6 separate regions of the Homo sapiens genome follow, and all the other regions are linked to region 3. The links are contacts of gene promoters, found by promoter capture Hi-C in human tissues and cell types (Jung and others, 2019). All regions are on one chromosome and are shown on one strand. Each heading gives the region's core, a stretch centred on a gene start or on the middle of the fragment in contact. The rest is flanking DNA. Distances are from core to core; before and after follow the strand shown.

Region 1 (3,182 bases), core at 175-2,674, 390 kb after region 3:
TTTTGTATTTTTGAGTAGAGACGGGGGTTTCACCATGTTGGCCAGGCTGGTCTCGAACTTCTGACCTCGTGATCCACCTGCCTTGGCCTCCCAAAGTGCTGGGATTACAGGCGTGAGCCACCGCCCCCAGCCTCTGAGTTCCTTTGTTTGTATTTGTATTTTTATTTTTTTTTTTTGAGGCAGAGTCTTGCTCTGTTGCCCAGGCTGTAGTGAAATGGTGCGATCTTGACTCACTGCAACCTCCACCTCCTGGGTTCAAGTGATTCTCCTGCCTCAGCCTCCCAAGTAGCTGGGATTACAGGCACTCGCCACCAGGCCAGGCTAATTTTTTGTATTTTTAGTAGAGACGGGGTTTTACCCTGTTGGTCAGGCTGGTCTCGAACTTGTGACCTCAGGTGATCCACCCACCTTCGCCTCCCAAAGTGCTGGGATTACAGGTGTGAGCCACCGCACCTGGCCTGCATTTTTATTATTTTTAAAATTATTTATTTATTTATTTATGTTTGAGACAGGGTCTCGCTCTGTCATCCAGGCTGGAGTGCAGTGGTGCCATCTCGGCCCACTGCAACCTCCAACTCCTGAGTTCAAATGATTCTCCTGCTTCAGCCTCCCAAGTAGCTGGGACTACAAACGTGTGCCACCATGCCCAGCTAATTTTTGTATTTTTAGTATAGATGAGATTTCACTGTGTTGGCCAGGCTGGTTTCAAACTCCTGACCTCAGGTGATCCACCTGCCTCGGCTTCCCAAAGTGCTGGGAGTACAAGCATGAGCTACCACCACTGGCCCTGAGTTCCTTTGGATACAATTCTGGAAATGTAAAGAAAGATCAAAGGATTAAGACTCTTGATGCAGACTCAGACATGATTCCCAGGAGGAAAATCCTGCAGTCAGAAAGGCCTTGCTGGTGGAAGGTGGACAGGAGAGGTGGCGAGAAGTCCAGGGGCTCTAGTCCACAATGAGATGACAAGGCCCTGAGCCAGGAGAGTTGCACAGAAGTAGAAAACCGGTGAAGTGAGTGTTTCTAGCATTTCAAGAGAAGAAGCCAGTGGGCTGAATACCTGAGAGAAGAGGGAGGAGGGGAAGGAAGAGCCATGGATTATACAAGTTTCAAACACTAGCGCTAATGGGTAGTTTGGTAGTTGATACATTAGCCAAGACAAGGAGTAGGAGAGGCTCCTGGTCCCCTTTCTGAGCTTCCCACCGCCTAAGCAGCCAAACATGTGGGTATTCCTGGAACCTAAAGATGAGGATGATGAAAAACATGTATACATCCTGCTTTCTTTTTCTTTTTCTTTTATTATTTTTTTTCCGAGACGCAGTCTTGCTGTGTCTGGGCTGGAGTGAAGTGGTGTGATCTCGGCTCCCTGCAACCCTCGCCTCCCAGGTTCAAGCGATTCTCCTGACTCAGCCTCCTGAGTAACTGGGATTACAGGCACGTGCCACCACATCCCTTTAATTTTTGTATTCTTAGTAGGGATGGGATTTCACCATGTTGGCCAGGCTGGTCTGGAACTCTTGACCTCATGATCCGCCCACCTCGGCCTCCCAAAGTGCTGAGATTACAGGCATGAGCCACTGTGCTCAGCATACATTCTGCTTTCTACCTGATAGCTCTACTTGAATGTTCCAACAGTATCTGAAACTCCTCTTGTGCAAAACAAAACTCTTGGTATCTCCCCAGAGCCTGCTCTTCCCTATCAGTAAATGGCAGTATCATCCACCTGTTTCCCAAGTAATATGGTTTGGCTGTGTCTCCATCCAAATCTCATCTTGAATTGTACTCCTATAATTCCCACACGTTATGGGAGGGACCCAGTGGGAGATAATTTGAGTCATGGGGTGGTTCCCTCATACTGTTCTCATGGTAGTGAATAAGTCTCATGAGATCTGATGGTTTTATCAGGGGTTTCCGCTTTTGCATCTTTCTCATTTTCTCTTGCTGCTGCTGTGTAAGAAGTGCCTTTCACCTCCTGCCATGATTCTGAGACCTCCCCAGCCATGTGGAAATGTAAGTCCGATTAAACCTCTTTTTCTTCCCAGACTCGGGTATGTCTTTATCAGCAGCGTGAAAATGGACTAATACACCAAGTAATTCTCGATCTCCCTTGATTCCCCATTCTCTCACTTCCCACACGGCAACCATCCCCAGTCCTATCTGCCTCCTAAATATATTTCAAATACAGCCAATTCCCTGTGCTGTCCATTATAGTAGCCACTAGCTACGTGTGCCTATTTAAATTGTAATTCATTAGAATGACATGAAATTAAAAATTCAGTTCTTCAGCCACACCACCCTCATTCCAAGTGCTCAAGAGTCACAGGGAACTAGGAGCCAGTGGCTACCATATGAGCACAGGTGGAGAATGTTCCCACCATCCCAGGAAGTCCCATTGACAGTGCTGATCTGTATCCAAATCCAAGCTAGCAACGTCTTTCATTTGGATGACTCTAATAGCCCCTTAATTGTTGTTGTTCTGGTTTCTACTGCTCTCCCTTTCTAATCCGTTCTCCCTACAGAAGCCAGAATGAACTTTTAATCAAAAATCAGATCTTATAACTCTCCTGTTTAAGCCTTCAGTGGCTTTTCATCACACTTAGAACAAAATCAAACTTATTTCCACGACCACTGCCTTCCATGACCTGCCCTTTGACCTGCCCTTTGTGTCCCTCGTGCCTCATCTTTGTTTTTTTTTTTGTTTTTGTTTGAGAAGGATCTCAATCTGTCACCCAGGCTGCAGTGCAGTGCAGTGCAGTGGTGTGATTATGGCTCACTACAGCCTCGTCCTCCCTGGGCTCAGGTGATCCTCCTGCCTCAGACTCCCAAGTAGCTAGGACTATAGACACACGCCACCATGCCCAGCTAATTTTTATATTTCTTGTAGAGAGAGGGTTTTGCCATGTTGCCCAGGCTGGTCTTGAACTGAGCTCAAGCCATCCACCCTCCCCAGCCCGTCCCGGCCTCCCAAAGTGCTGGGACTTTAGGCATTAGCCACTGCCCCCAGCTTCATGCCCCATCTTGAGCCACTCTCTCCCTGTCTCGTTATATGCCAGCCACGCTAGTCTCCTTGCTGTTCCTTCCACTCTCTGAGCTCTTCTCTGCCTCAGGGCCTTTCCACATGCTGTCTACCTGGAAGACTCTTCACCTCTTCACTGGGTTTGGCAAGGCTAAGTTTCTTCTCA
Region 2 (3,248 bases), core at 263-2,762, 260 kb after region 3:
TTGGGAGGCTGAGGCAGGAGAATCACTTGAACCCAGGTGGCGGAGGTTGCAGTGAGCCGAGATCATGCCAGTGCACTCCAGCCAGGGCAACAAGAGCGAAACTTCGTCTCAAAAAAAAAAAAAAAAAAAAAAAAGCATGAGATCTACCCTCAACAATACAGTATTGTTGTTAATAACTATAAGCACAATGTCGTACAGCAGATCTCCAGAACTTTCATCCTGCCTGATTGAAGCTGTGTAGAAAAATGTAGAAACTTCACAAGTTTGAGTGTCATCCTTGTGTAGGGGCCATGCTAATCTTCTCTGTATTGTTCCTGTTTTAGTGTATGTGCTGCCGAAGTGGCACCTTTTCCTTTTCTTGAGGACTCATGAGGATGGGCGTGTGGGCTCTGTCTTTGGCTTTTGGGGGCTATTGGAGGGTTAGAAACTTGCCTTTGCCCCCTGTGGCAACATCTGCCCTTCATCACATCACTGCCATCCTGAAGGGAGAAATGCCCTTGAGGGGAAGGAGGAAGGCATGGTTGGGTAGAGCCTGTTGCCACCCTGAGCAGTGACTTAATTCCTTAGCAGGATCAGTTAGTTCCATGGCTATAGGGGTCACCTGTGGCTCTTGATTGCTCCTTTCTAGAAGGGGTGGATTGTAAATATGCAGTTCATTGTCTTGGTTTCCATGGGATGGTGACATTGTCTCCCATTACCACTTGTAAGGTTCTCCCTCAGCTCTAGTCCCCTGATTCCTTTAGAGCTAGACAGTGCTTGAGAGCCTCTGCTTCCGTTACTCCTTTCTGTCCGATAAGGTGGGCCTGGTTCTCCTACTCCCAGTTTTGCTTATGAGGAAGAAATTGATCCTTGAGGATACAGTTGACTTTCCTCATAAAGCAAATTGGAATTAGAACTGGTTTGCAGAGCCAGATCTCTTGATTTTGTTGGTTGTCTAGGGAGGGACTGGCCACCAGTTCATTTAACAGCATGCAGGTCCCCTCTGGGCCTGAAGGCCTCTGTTGTGACACTGTCTCCTTGTACTAGAAGCATCTGCCTCCACTTGTCCCTTTATCCCAAGGAAAGAATAGTCAGAAGATTTGACAGGTGAACAAACACAAGTCCAGAAGGGACATGACTGGCCCAAGATCACGCCACCAGCTAATGCCAGACAGGCGATGAGAACCAGTTGTCTCATACCTTTGCCTTGTAAAACAGGTAGTGCAGCTCTGAATCCTGCTGCTCTAGGCACTGCCTGCAGCAGCTGCCTCTGGGGTTCCCCCATATATTCCTGAAGGCTCCTTAGCATACCTTTTAAAAATCTTTTTTTCCCTACTGTGTCTTTCTCTCTACTTTTCCTTCTTTAGAAGTCACACACACCATCTTCATCAAATCCTGTGCACTTACTGAACTTCTACGACTTTAATCGCCAATACTGTGAATAGACTCTTCCTTGAACTGAGCACAGCATGTCTGCCACAGGGTCTACCTTTATAGACTGACTCTGCAGAGGGCTGGACCAAAAGTTTAACAGATTCGTTTTTTAAAGGCTACTTAAAAATAGTTTTAACAGAATCAAGGTGTATCCCCACCATGTGTATTAGTAAAGCCAGAAGTAGCTCAAAGACCTTAATAGGAATCACCTGGGTGTTTCAAGGTTTTTATAGATATTGACAGTCGAACAACAGTCTGGTAGAAAGCTTTTCCCTGGGACTTTGGAGCAGGTCATGTTGATAAGTCACATGTGCTTTTGTTTTCAGTCCTTCCTAAGGAGCCCTGTAACAAATAGGATGGCTGAAGCCATCCAGTTCCTATGTTGTTCTAATGAATGGATAACAGGTACAGAGAAGGGAAGGGGCCTGATCATCTGTTGAGTTAGGTGGTAGAAGGTACATTTGCAGGGGGACTTGAGGCATCTTTCCATTCATTTGATAAGTCCATTCAAGATGCCTTTTGCCAGGCACTGGGGATACAACCATGAACAAGATAGTTCCTACTCTTTCGGCTCTTAATTGGGTTGGGAGCCAGAAACAGAAGTTAAAACAAGTTAAGTAAACAAGACTGTGTAAGGTAGTGATGAATGCCGTGACGGGAAAATTGATAAGACGACTTGAGGCACTGATGATGCTCTCAACTTTGGGAAGTAGCAGAAGGCCCCACTCCTGGGCAACATGGCAAAACCCCATCAAAAAAAAATGAAAGAAAGAAAGAAAAATTAGCCAGGCATGGTGGTGCACACCTGTAGTCCCAGATACTCGGGAGGCTGAGGTGGGAGGATCACCTGAGCCCAGGGAGGCTGAGGCTGCAGTGAGCCATGATCATGCCACTGCACTGTAGCCTGGGCAACAGAGTGAGACCCTGCCAACAAAGCAGGAAAAAAATAAAAGCCTTTCTGAGGAGGTGGTAAGGAGCCAACCCTGCAAAGGCTTAGGGAATAGTGCTGCAGACAGAAGGGATGCGCAAGTGAAGGTCTTGAGGCTGGAAAGAGTTTGATGTGTTTCAGAAACTGAAATGAGGCCAGTGTAAAGGTATGGAGGGGAAGACAGGAAGGAACTGGGTCCTGTGGGCCTCAGTAAGCCAGAGTTAGAGAGTTGGGGCTTTGGGTATTCTCCTTTGAGCAGTAGGAGGCAGTGGAAGGTTTTAAGTAGGGGAGAGAATATTATGATATAAATTTGGAGATAATCTAGGTGCCCAGCTCACCTCTGGCCAGTTCCAGGAAATGAGGAAGTACATGCCTTATTCACTACCTTATCCCCACTACCTAATAGAGAGCCCAGCATATGGTAGGTGCCAAGAAAATGTACACTGGATGAATAAATGAACAAAATGAGTATACTAATCTGTTCTTCCAGTAGTTGGTATGATAATTGTGTGAGAGTGATGAAATGGCCTGGGTTTCCTTCAGGCCTTGTTTTAACCCTCTTGTTGTCACTGCTGTAGGTCAGAGGCCTGGCTTCAAGTACTGGTATGACAAGGAGTGGCTGAGCAGGGGACATATGCATGGCCTGGCATTTCTAGAAGAGAACTACTCCCATCAGAATGCCAAGAAGATCGTGGCCACCCACCAGCTTCTTGGTGATGTGCAGAGAGTGATTGAGGTTCTGCATGGCCTGCAGCTCAAGATGAGCATCTTGCAGTAAGTGTGGCACCTGCAGTGCTGGGAGCAGTCTGTTTGGCATGGTCTGGGGGCTGAGTAAATCTGAGAAATTGGAAAGCTACCAAAGCAATCAAATCATAAAACTGAGTTTGAGACCTTTACTAAAAATTAT
Region 3 (2,836 bases), core at 106-2,605:
TACCAACTTCTTCAATTTATATTAGGTTATCTCTGAGAATCCTGGAGCCAAGGAGGGTTTTAGGGCCCAGAAATCTCTTAAAGTCTGCAATTCTCAGCATGACACCACGCAGATGAGTAAATGTTTAGCACTTAATACTGAGTAACCCTCACAAGAGCCCCTCAGATTTGTCACTATAAAGCACACGTTGGAGGCACACAAAAAGCCCGTACGTTTACAACCTAGCAGCTAAGCCTGCTGCACTGGCGTCCAACCCCGTCACTAACCTGTAGATCCTCAAAGTCCCTCCCACCACCCAATTCACGTGGCTGCAAACTAATGCAGCCAAGCTTCAGAGAAACTCAATTAACTCTCCATCAAAAGCACCCACCCTCCGCAGCCCACTGGATCTCGTCCTCCTGAAATGCCACAGGATCCTCTCCCGAGGGAGCCGTAAATGTGCTGCTCACAGCAGCCCCTTCCCTACTGGGGGACCAAAGGCCTGGCATCTTACTACAATTCTCAGAGCCTCAGGAGGCGTACTCACCCCACCCCCTCACCTCCTAGCTTCAGACGCCGGCTTCTCAAAACTGCTACACCCTCGAGTAAAGCCCCTCCCCAGCAATGGACCTCGGAGGCATTTCACTGCAAACCCCTCCACCTTCAGGCCACGAAGGCGGCCGGTTGTGACACTTCCTTTCTGAACTCACAGGAGTGTACCGACTACAGCTTCCTCCCCACAGGTGTGACCTGGGTCCCCTTTTGCTGGTAGGCCACAAAGGCCTCCTTTCCATTTCGGGTTGAAGGAGTGTCCTCACTACGATTATCTCCCCACCTCCAGGCACAGAGATGTAGTTATAACCTCTGCTTCACTGGGGGAGACAAGAAATCCTCCGTACTCGGGATGTAGGCGTGTTTTTACTGCAGTCCCCGTTAGCTCGCAGGCCGCTGAGCCAGCCAGCTCTGGCCTGCCCCCTCTCAGACCACGGGGGAGTCCTCGCTATGGCCTCGTCCCCACTTCGGTACGCAGGCTCATCCTCTTGCGTCCTCCTTGCATCCTCTCAGATCTCAGAGGCCTAAGTGGCATCCCACTCCCCCTGCAGCCCTGCCTCGACCCTTTGTGTGGGGCGCTAGTTGCCGCGGGCTCGAAGGCCTCCGAAGGCCCCGCCCCGGGCCACCAAGGGGCACCACGAGCCCCGCACAGCCCCACCCGTTCAGGGGCTGCGGGAGTCTTACCGGGGAAAGCTGCGCGGCACCAGAACCCAGACCCCGAATTACCCCCCGCGCGAGTGCCTCCGCCCCGCGGCCGACAGCCCCAGCCCGAACGGCTTCCCGGAGCCCAACGCAGCCACCACCTCCTTCGCCGCTTCACAAAATGGCCGTCGGCCCGCTCAGCGGCTCCGCGTTCCAGAAGGGGGAGGAACGGCGTGGTTGACGTCAAGGGGCCGCGCAAGCGCGCTGACGGTCTCGGGCGATCTCCCGGAAGTTACTGGGTTTTGTGCTAAGAGGGGGATATTCAGTCCCTGCTTGCGACTGTTGGCGCACAGGACCGACCTTGGGCTAGTGGCCCTGGCGGGTGGGCTGGGTATGAGTGTCTAGCTTGGCCCTTCACTGCAAGACTGTGCAAATTGCTTCACGTCTTCCAGTTTCCGCGGAAGGAGCGAATTGTGCTTACCTCTAAGTTTTTTGAGGATTAAATGGACCACAACGTGGTGGCTAGTTATTATATCCTGACAAAACAGCCAAAACCTGATTCTTTTTTCCCATTTAAGAGTTTATACAGGCCGGGGGCCGGGCGCGGTGGCTCACGCCTGTAATCCCAGCACTTTGGGAGGCCGAGGCGGGCGGATCACGAGGTCGGGAGATCGAGACCATCCTGGCTAACACGGTGAAACCCCGTCTCTTCTAAAAAATACAAAAAATTAGCCGGGCGTGGTGGCGGGCACCTGTAGTCCCAGCTACTCGGGAGGCTGAGGCAGGAGAATAGCGTGAACCTGGGAGGCGGAGCTTGCAGTGAGCCGAGATTGCGCCACTGCACTCCGGCCTGGGCGAAAGAGCAAGACTCCATCTCAAAAAAAAAAAAAAAAAAAAAAAAAGTTTATACAGGCCGAGCGCGGTGGCTCACGCCTATAATCCCAGCACTTTGGGAGTCCGAGAAGGGCGGATCATGAGGTCAGGAGTTCGAGACCGGTCTGGCCAACAAGGCAAAACCCAGCCTCTACTAAAAATACAAAAACTAGCTGGGTGTGGTGGCGGTGCTTGTGGTCCCAGCTACTTGGGAGGCTGAGGCAGGAGAATCGCTTGAACCCGGGAGGTGGAGGTTGCAGTGAGCCCAGATGGCGCCATTGCACTCCACCCTGGATGACAAAAGCGAAACTTCGTCTCAGAAAAAAAAACAAAAAAAGAGTTTTAATCTAGGGCAGGGCGCAGTGGCTCACGCCTGTAATCCCAGCATTTTGGGAAGCCGAGGCGGGCGGATTACCTGAGGTCAGGGGTTCAAGACCAGCATGGCCAACATGGCGAAACCTCGTCTCTACTAAAAATACAAACATTAGCTGGGCGTGCTGGCTGGCGCCTGTGGTCCCAGCTACCAGGGTGGCTGAGGCAGGAGAATCGCCTGAATCCGGGAGGTGGCGGTTACAGTGAGCCAAGATAACGCCATAGCACTCCAGCCTAGGCGACAGAGCAAGATTCCGTCTCAAAAAAAAAAAAAAAATTAAATCCATCGTGACCCCTCCACGGCTTCACTATAGTATTATTTTATTATAGAAAAAGCTATTCTCTGGCTGGGCGTGGTGGCTTACGCCTGTAATCCCAGCACTTTGGGAAGCCGAGGTGGGAGGATCACGAGGTCAGG
Region 4 (2,916 bases), core at 189-2,688, 420 kb after region 3:
CAAATGTTTGCAGTATTTTGGGATGAAAGGAGTGAGGGGCACAAGCTGCAAGTGGACTGTGCTCCTGAGGATGAGAGCACTTTGCCTACTTTTCCACCCCTCTAAACTAAGCTTAGTATCTTGTGCTTGGGTGACTCTGACAGGTCAGCCCCGCATGACTCACTCTGTAAGCCTTCAGCGCGGGTCACCACAAGGTCCTGGTTTAGGGTGTGTGAGTTGGTGGGTGGGGAGGGGAGGTGGAAATTAACTTTCACCTTTCAGGAACCTTTCCCTTCCCCAGGAGAAGGACAAGTGTAAGTCCTTCCCTTAAGTAGTCTGGGCAAGTCTCTACTCATCACTCCTAGGAGGACTGGGGAGGTCCTGGAAGGTGCAGAGGAGGAAGCTCTGAGAAGTAGAAACAGCACCAAACTGCACCATAGAAGACTTTACTAATTTGTCCAAATGACAGAATTTACCTTCTCTGAGCTTCAGTTTCCCCAGCTATAAAGTGGCAACAACACTGATCTTGCCCTCCTCCCTAAGTTGCTACAAAAAGACATAGTAAAAATCTTTAGGGTGCCGGGCAGGGTGGCTCACGGCTGTAATCTCAGCACTTTGGGAGGCTGAGGCAGGCAGATCACCTGAGGTTAAGAGTTCGAGACCAGCCTGGCCAACATGGTGAAACCCCATCTCTACTAAAAATACAAAAATTAGCCAGGCATGGTGGCAGGCACCTGTAATCCCAGCTACTTGGGAGGCTGAGACATGAGAATCGCTTGAACCCGGGAGATGGAGGTTGCAGTGGGCAAAGATAGTGCTACTGCACTCCAGCCAGGGTGATGGAGCAAGACTCCATTTCAAAAAAAAAAAAAAAAAAAAATCTTTAAGAATGCAGCCTTGAAATCGCACAGACTTGTACTGGAATCCTTCTCATAAGCTATGTGACTGAGAAAGTTATAGATCTTCATAAGCCATTACAGCTACCTCCCAGGGTGAGAAAATTATGTAAATAAATTTCCTAACATATACTAAGTACTCAATAATGTTGGCTATTCCTATATGAGATGATGAAACTTATTATTATATAGGGAAAGTCCCAGACGAGGACCCATTTTTGAACATTGAAAGGAGGGAGTACAGAGGCTAACTTTTCTTAGAATTGGTTGCTTCTTTTAGCCAAGTATAAGGTGTGGCTCAAAGGAATGAGGAAGCAGTTAATGAGGTGACAGGGCACAGAATACTGTTTGTCTTCACAGATCTTGGGGGAGGGATACAGTGGTTAGCTGACCTTCCCAAAAGATCAGAGATCCTGGTGTCTTGTCCACCCACAGATGCAGGCCACTTGACTCTGTCCTGTCCCCTCCTACCAGTCCAGTCACCACGTTCTGGTGAGGCTGCCTTTGAAATAATAATAACAATGGTACTTGTACTAATGATATTATTACTTTGAAGTGTATGAAGGCTTTCTAATACATCATCCCAGTTATCCTTCATTATCTCTCTCCCATTCACAGAATCCAGAGTTAGGAAGGATATTGCAGATCATTCTGCATTTTACAGATGGGATCTCTGAAATTTGAATAAAGGAAGGGATCTACTCAAGGGCTGGGATTTACCTGAGACTACACAATAAGTTAATGGCAGGGGCAGGACTAGAACCTGCAGCTCCTGACTACCAGCCTAGTGCCAGTGCCTCTTTCAAGTCACACTTGCATTGGCTTTCCATTCCCATGGCCTCCCAGTCTATTCTTTTTTTTTGTTTTTTGTTTTGTTTTGTTTTGTTTTGAGACGAGTTTCGCTCTGTCGCCCAGGCTGGAGTGCAGTGGTGTGATCTCGGCTCACTGCAACCTCCGCCTCCCGGGTTCAAGCAATTCTCTGCCTCAGCCTCCCAAGTGGCTGGGATTACAGGCACCCACCACCATGCCTGGCTAATTTTTTTGTATTTTTAGTAGAGACAGGGTTTCACCATGTTTGCCAGGCTGGTCTTGAACTCCTGACCTTGTGATCCACCCTCCTCGGCCTCCCAAAGTGCTGGGATTACAGGCATGAATCACCGTGCCCAGCCCCAGTCTATTCTTTTATCTCCTGGACCACTGCAGTGGTTTCCTACTGGTCCTGCCTGCCTCTGATCCCTCCCCACCCATTTCTTCTACACATACAGTCACATAATTGTCTGGAAGCACAGCTTTGATCTTGTCTTTCCCTTCCTAATAGAACTTGCCCATTTTTTCAACTTGAGAGGTCACCAGGATCCTAGTTCAATTTCCCAATGAAGACTTAATCTTTCCTTGAATACATATATTGACAAGGAGTTCATCACTCCCAAGGTGGTCCATTCCATTCTTGGGTAGCTCCAACTGTTAGGGAGTTCTTTATAGTGAGCTGAAATTGTCTTCCTGGATATCCCCCCACTGGAGGTGATGTGATGGAATTCTCTTTTTTTTTTTTTTTTTTTTGAGACCGAGTCTCACTGTGTTGCCCAGGCTAGAGTGCAGTGGTACAATCTCAGCTCACTGCAACCTCCGCCTCCCAGGTTCAGCAATTCTCATGTCTCAGCCTCCCGAGTAGCTGGGACTTACAGGCATGAGCCACCAAGCCTGGCTAATTTTTTTGTGTTGTTAGTAGAGACAGGGTTTCACCATGCTGGCCAGGTTGGTCTCAAACTCCTGGCCTCAGGTGATCTGCCTGCCTCGGCCTCCCAAAGTGCTGGGATTACAGGTGTGAGCCATCACACTTGGCCCCTTTTTGTTTTTTTTTTTTTTTAGACAGAGTTTCACTCTTGCTGCCTAGGCTGGAGCGCAGTGGTGTGATCTTGGCTCACTGCAACCTCCACCTCCCAGATTCAAGACATTCAGCCTCCCAAATAGTTGGGATTACAGGCATGTGCCACCACGCCCAGCTAATTTTGTATTTTAGTAGAGACGGGGTTTCACCATG
Region 5 (3,115 bases), core at 406-2,905, 320 kb after region 3:
CCTCACGGTACCTAACAGACACCACTGATATTTATTTAACTTATTGAATGAATGAAGGAAAAGAATAAATATCGAAAGAATTGAGATTTGGACTTGCATACGAAATACAGAAACTTCCCTCTGAGTTTAAGAACTCCTTGTTCGCTCTGGGCCTGGGCACCTCTACCCCAAGGGTGCCCAGTTGGGTAGTGGGCTGCTGGTAATTATGATAAGACCATTATCTGTGTCTCATTCTAGGCATACTCATCTGCATTTTACAGACAAGAGAAACCAAGGATCAGAGAGGGGATATCCATTGCTCAGTGTCACACAGCTAAGAGCAGAACCAGGATTTGGATCCTGGGCTAACGCTAAAGCCAGTCCTCCTAATCATTTAGTGACTCTACTAACCCATTCATTGCTTTCAGCATGTGTTCACTCATTTATTCCACTATGTTCAATGAACATTCACTGTGCCCAAGCACACGCAGCAGTGACCCAGACTGGCAAAGACTCTGCTCTCAGGAAGCTTCAGTTCAACCGAGGCAGGCAACGGGATAGGTGTTAGTGAAAGGCTCCAGCTTGACTGGCAGGGCTGGGCTGTCCTGAGGGCCCTTCTGGTCCAAGTCTGTGCTCTTATATCCCAAAGCAAAGAGCACAACCAGTCCAGAGCTCCTCTCAGCTTGGACCTGCCCCCATGTCACTACCCAATCAACTAGCAGTGGTCTTTTCCCAGGTTTGGTCGCAGGCGTGTGATCATCAAGAAGGGGCAGAAGGGCAACAGCTTTTATTTCATCTACCTGGGCACAGTTGCAATAACCAAGGACGAGGATGGCAGCAGTGCCTTCCTAGATCCCCACCCGAAATTGCTGCACAAGGGTAGCTGTTTTGGGGTAAGCCCAGGGGAAGGACCCAGTTTCCTGGGGTGGAGTGGGTGGAGGTGACAGGACTTCTGCTAGAACCTCTCAGCCAGGCCCAGTCCTGCCTAGTACTCTGTACAAGTCAGTGTCCCGTGTGGGCCCCTTACCTGTCAAATGCTAATTGAGTTGGACTAAGATCAGCCTCTTCATCTGTGATGTTTAAGAAGTATGTTCCTGATACAGCCCTTTAGAGATGAAGTGACTCCATAGTGAGGCCTCTCCAGCTTCCTCCCCTCTGGCCTGTTCAGGTCTGTTGCCTCTTTTTCCATAAGCAGCAGATTAAGAAGAAGGGGAGTGGGCCCCAGTGGGAGAATGTGCAGGAGAATAGAGGAGGCTAGGGAACACACAGTCTGGTGAGGAGAGAATTCAGGGGGAAGATGGAGGCACGGAAGATGTGTGTAAGGCTGAGGACAGGAAGTGGAGGTGGCCTCACACTTGCCCTTGCCCTGTCCACCCAACAGGAAATGGACGTTCTGCATGCTTCAGTGAGGAGGTCCACCATCGTCTGTATGGAAGAAACGGAGTTCCTGGTTGTTGACCGGGAGGACTTCTTTGCTAATAAGCTGGACCAGGAAGTTCAGAAGGATGCTCAGTATCGGTTTGAATTTTTTAGGTAACTCTGCCTTCATTCAACATTTTTTTCCCCTTGTGTGTTTATTAGCTGCCTGACTTTGTCTGTCCTAGGCCTGGTGGGAAACATACTGGTTGCTGTTCTCTCTGTCTGGGATGCTCTGAAGTCCCACCTCGTACCCACCTTCTCTCTCTGCAGACTCCTACTATCCCTTCGGGTCTCAGCTCAAATATCCCTTCTTTATTGAAAGTAATAGTAAGAATAGCTAACACGGGACTGGGCACAGTGGCTCACTCCTGTAATCCCAGCACTTTAGGAGGCCAAGGTGGGAGGATCCCTGAACCCAGGAGTTCAAGACCAGCCTGGACAACATAGTGAAATCCTGTCCCTACAAAATAAAAAATTAAAAAAAATTAGCTGGGTGTGGTGGCACATACCTATAGTTTCAGCTACTTGGGAGGCTGAGGTGGGAGGATCACTTGGGCCCAGGAGTTCGAGGCTGTGGTGAGTTGTGATCGCATCACTGCACTCCAGCCTGGGCAACAGAGTGTGGTCCTAGTAGCTAGGACTGTAGGTGTGCTGCCACATCCAGCTAATTGTTCTATTATTTGTAGAGATGGAATCTTGTTATGTTGCCCAGGCTGGTCTTGAACTCCTGGTCTCAAGTGATCCTGCCACTTTGGCCTCCTAAAGTGCTGGGATTACAGACATGAGCCCCCATGCTCAGCCCAAACTATAAAACTATAATTCCTTTTTTTTTTTTTTTTGAGAGAGGGTCTTGCTCTGTTGCCCAGGCTGGAGTGCAGTGGCATGATCTCATCTCACTGCAACCTCCGCCTCCTGGGTTCAAGCAATTCTCCTGCCTCAGCCTCCCACATAGCTGGAATTACAGTCATACACCATCACTCCCAGCTAACTTTTTTGTATTTTTAGTAGAGATGGGGTTTCACTATGTTGGCCAGGGTGGTGTTGAACTCCTGGCCTCAAGTGATCTGACTACCTTGGCCTCCCAAAGTGCTGGGATTACAGGCGTAAGCCACTGCGCCTGGCCCAAACTATAATTCTTGATTGCATGGTAATTTCTTTACAGTTTATATACCCCCTCAGACAGTAAGCAGTATGGTGACAGAGACCAGATAGATCTGTCTTTGTCACTACTATAATCCTTATGTTGTCACACTGCCAGACACATGCAGGTGCTCAACAAATAAATATTGAGTAAGGTGAATAACAGGATATAAATAATTACAATCACATGTGAGTCAGAAAGTAAGCACCGTAACTGGGTATCATATTTAAAAGCAGAACTCATACATAGCAAAAGATTTTTGGTTTTTGAATACTTATGTGCATGAAAGGCCACGTAAGGATATGCAAGTGAAATCTCATTTAATTGCTCTTCAGTTATTTGCCTTTATGTAAAAGGAATAAAAATCCAATGAAGTATCTGCACTGGCCCTGAAAATTTGGGCTGTAGGGCTGCACAGCTACAGAGAAGTGTGATGGCCGAGGGGTCTGGTTCCTGTGGCTGGGGCTGAGAGAGGTAGCTTCATCCCCTGGAAAAGTGGGGATTTAGTCCTAAAGGGAGGAGCTGTTTTTTTTTTCCATACTGTGGAAAAATAGGTCTGGCTCCAATCTCAGCTCT
Region 6 (3,049 bases), core at 301-2,800, 410 kb before region 3:
GGGGTGGAGTTTCCTGGGAACTTTTTGAACTTATTAGCTTACTTCTTTTTTCTAAACTCTCATTATGGAAAATTTCAAACTCACAAAAGTAGGAAGAATGCTTCTATGATCTCCCAGATACCCACCACCTGCCTCAGCAATTATCAACGTTGTGGCATTCCTATTTATCTACCTTTTTTTGGCTGATGTATTTTAAAGAAAATCTCAGGCATTCTAACATTTCACCTTTAAATACTTTAGTATATACCTCTAACAGATAAAGGCTAATTTTTAACATAAGCACACAATCATTATCAAGCCCAACAAAATTAACAATAATTTTTTAAAATCTAATACCCAGTTCGAGTTCACTTTCCCAAAGTACCTTGGAAATGTCTTTTACAGTTGTTTGCTTGAATCAGGATCCAAACAAGATCCACACACACATGGCTGACATGTCTCTTAAAGCCCTTTTTATTTAAAACACCCCCGTCCTACACACACGTTTCCCTCCATATATTTGTTGAAGAAACTGGGTCAGGTGTCCCGAGTATAATCATTTGGCGTGACTAGAATCAAGTTTACTTTTAATACGTCTCTCTTGCCCATAATTCCTGAATGTTGTTCATTAGATTTACAGGCTGACTAGATTCAAGTTCAATTTTTTTGGCAAGAATACTTCCTAGGTGGTGCTGGTACTTCCTATTCACCATATTAGCAAATACATATGATGCAGACTGTCCCACTTTTAGTGATGTTGAGGTCGAGCATTTGCTTCAGGTTGTGTCAGCCTGACCCAACCATTATACAATTCACCTGGAGAACTTAAAAAAAAAAAACAACAAAAAAGATTGCCTACGTCCCAAACCAAACCTCCTGAATCAGAATATCTTCCCCACCTCCTCCATGTGTTTAAAAGGCTCCCCGGGCCAGGTGCGATGGGAGCACTGGAGTAATCCCAGCACTTTGGGAGGCCGAGGGGGGGCAGATCACCTGAGGTCAGGAGTTCGAGACCAGCCTGGCCAACATGGCAAAACCCCGTCTCTACTAAAAATACAAAAATTAGCCGGGTGTGGTGGCACATGCCTGTAATCCCAGCTACTCGGGAGGCTGAGGCAGGAGAATGGCTTGAACCCGGGAGGCGGAGGTTCAAGTGAGCCGAGATTGCACCACTACACTCCAACCTGGGTGACAGAGTGAGATCCTGTCTCAAAAATAAAAAAGAAAGAAAATACTTTTTAAAAAAATAGGAAATTCACCCCTTTGGAAAGTGGCAGAGCCAGGTGTGACCCCAGGACTCCGCATTTTTAAGTCACCACAGGTGGTTCTGCTGCAGGTGGTCCGAGTATTTCCCTTGGTAAAATACGGTGCTTTTGGCGCTGTTCCATTCCGGGGGCTGTCACCTGGTTCTTCAACACAAAGCTTGTCCTCAAGGAACCCACAGTCCTGGGGCAGCGAGCATGTGCACTAGTGGCAATCACGTGGGGAGGAAGCGGTCAGTGCCATAAAGGCAGTTCAGGGAAACTGCTGGGAGGGCACAGCAGAAGGAGCACTCACTGCCAGCTGGGAAGTCATGGAAGGCTTCCTGGAAGACAGGCATGGAGCTGAACTTTGAAGGAATCAGGTTATTCCAGGGGAAGGGGCAGCACTGGCAGAAGAACAGAGGCAAAGGGAAATGCTATCACCTTTCGTGGGGCTGGGGGAGTTAATGAGATGGGAACGACCAAATATGGAGATCCTAAAAGAAAGAAATGAGGCAGAGACAAGGTCCACTTGAGTAGCCGAGTAGACTGCTGGGGACTTGCTCGGAGGCCCAGGGACTTACAGGAACACACCCTATCAGGGGTGCTGGTGCTCACACACAGCTCAACAGGACCCTGCTAATGAAGGGTAATACTTCTGTACCAGGAGCTGGTATCAGCGCATTACACACCCTGCCCCATGAATCTTCACCCACATCCCTATGACGAAGGTGCCATTGTTCCTTCTATCTTCCAGAGGAAGAATTTAAAATGTCACACTGCTAGGACATGGCAGAGCTGGGATTCAAAACCAGGCAGTCTGGCTCCCAGAGACTGCATTCCTGACCACTCTGCTTCCCTGCCGCTCACCCTCTTGAAGAGTGAAGACCCTAGCAGCCTCCTGCCCATGGAGCATGGGGTCCTCATAGCAGGCCTCTCCTCCTCATACCTCTGCCTTCACCTCACAAGCTCAGGGAGTCCTCCTGCCCCTGCCCTGCTCCCTCTGTCTCCCCCTCAGGGCTCTCTTGGGTTTCTGTGCAGCAGGATACTGGCTCCCTCGCTCTTCCCTTCCTTTTGGTTCCTGGACCCAAACCACAGGCCTCTTTCCTTTAAGGGGTCACTCCTGTTCTCTGCAGACCCAGAACAGGGGTTAAAAGAGCAAGAGACAAGGCTGCGGACAAAGGTTTTGAGTCTCCCACAGTGCTCAGAGCCGTGTTCCCTGGTTCCCAGCTGAGCTCCCTGTGGACAGCCCCTGGGGAAGAGCCTGCTCAGGAGACAGAGGCCCTGAACAGCTTGTCCCAGGTCATAGAATAGCCCAGGAGCACAGCCAGGACTGGACCCCAGGAAGCAGAGCTGCCTTCCGCTGGCTCTACCAGTTTGTTTGGGATGGAGCTCAGCGATGAGCTCACCCTTCCCTGCTGCCAGAGGGGCCAGGACCTGAGTAAGGAGCTGGGGGCGGCCTGGCCCTCTCATGCCAGCAGAAGGCCAGCCCCAGGCTTTTGGCCAACCTTGCACTGATCTTGCCCATCCCCCTTCCTTTCCGTTGCTCAAAGGTGGCTTCACAGAAGACACTGGCGGTGTCAGTAGTGTGGGAGGCATGTACTGCCCGTGGCCTGGGTCTGCCCCATGGGGTTCTTCTCTCTTCCAGAGACCTAAGCCAGGAAGGCCAAACAATCCCCACCCCCATGTGTCCCTAGGCCAGTGACGCTGGGGCCAGAGTGGGCAGTAGGACTCTAGACCACCTCCTAGGTTCCTGGCAGCCTCCCTGGACTTACAGGTGGCAGGAATGGGCCGAGCCATGCCTTAGGGCCAGAAGATAAGAGGCAGGG

What was found. Contacts are between HindIII fragments. The study calls those that stand out against the background at their distance.
Region 1: a fragment that was not itself captured here is called in contact with the fragment with the promoter of CPNE1 in region 3 in 1 of the 25 tissues and cell types used here (dorsolateral prefrontal cortex).
Region 2: a contact is called between a fragment that was not itself captured here and the fragment with the promoter of CPNE1 in region 3, in 2 of the 25 tissues and cell types used here (IMR-90 fibroblasts and lymphoblastoid cells).
Region 4: a contact is called between a fragment that was not itself captured here and the fragment with the promoter of CPNE1 in region 3, in 2 of the 25 tissues and cell types used here (dorsolateral prefrontal cortex and lymphoblastoid cells).
Region 5: a contact is called between a fragment that was not itself captured here and the fragment with the promoter of CPNE1 in region 3, in 1 of the 25 tissues and cell types used here (mesenchymal stem cells).
Region 6: a fragment that was not itself captured here is called in contact with the fragment with the promoter of CPNE1 in region 3 in 1 of the 25 tissues and cell types used here (dorsolateral prefrontal cortex).

The regions. Positions count from the first base shown.
Region 1 is chr20:36,052,617-36,055,798 of GRCh38, forward strand. No RefSeq gene overlaps it. Among named protein-coding and RNA genes, the nearest start is that of NORAD, 3.2 kb to the left of the region's middle. RefSeq lists an enhancer at 1,587-1,766. The HindIII fragment of the contact is 6,332 bases long and covers 1-3,182 here.
Region 2 is chr20:35,928,330-35,931,577 of GRCh38, forward strand. PHF20 (PHD finger protein 20) reads left to right here. Exons shown (of 18, transcript NM_016436.5): 15 at 2,920-3,115. It also overlaps the pseudogene RNU6-937P. Among named protein-coding and RNA genes, the nearest start is that of SCAND1, 25 kb to the right of the region's middle. The HindIII fragment of the contact is 6,965 bases long and covers 1-3,248 here.
Region 3 is chr20:35,663,545-35,666,380 of GRCh38, forward strand. It overlaps CPNE1 (copine 1), which reads right to left and starts at 1,356. Exons shown (of 16, transcript NM_152925.3): 1 at 1,216-1,356. RBM12 (RNA binding motif protein 12) reads right to left here and starts at 1,356. Exons shown (of 3, transcript NM_006047.6): 1 at 1,216-1,356. RefSeq lists enhancers at 65-184, 179-684, 525-574, 895-1,004, 1,189-1,693 and 1 more and a silencer at 923-1,217. The HindIII fragment of the contact is 6,796 bases long and covers 1-2,836 here.
Region 4 is chr20:36,085,768-36,088,683 of GRCh38, forward strand. No RefSeq gene overlaps it. Among named protein-coding and RNA genes, the nearest start is that of NORAD, 36 kb to the left of the region's middle. The HindIII fragment of the contact is 7,451 bases long and covers 1-2,916 here.
Region 5 is chr20:35,983,267-35,986,381 of GRCh38, forward strand. It overlaps CNBD2 (cyclic nucleotide binding domain containing 2), which reads left to right. Exons shown (of 12, transcript NM_001365709.1): 5 at 716-872; 6 at 1,361-1,512. Among named protein-coding and RNA genes, the nearest start is that of CNBD2, 16 kb to the left of the region's middle. The HindIII fragment of the contact is 7,254 bases long and covers 1-3,115 here.
Region 6 is chr20:35,257,991-35,261,039 of GRCh38, forward strand. All of the region lies in intron 2 of MMP24-AS1-EDEM2 (MMP24-AS1-EDEM2 readthrough), which reads right to left. All of the region lies in intron 4 of MMP24 (matrix metallopeptidase 24), which reads left to right. Among named protein-coding and RNA genes, the nearest start is that of MMP24-AS1-EDEM2, 19 kb to the right of the region's middle. The HindIII fragment of the contact is 5,720 bases long and covers 1-3,049 here.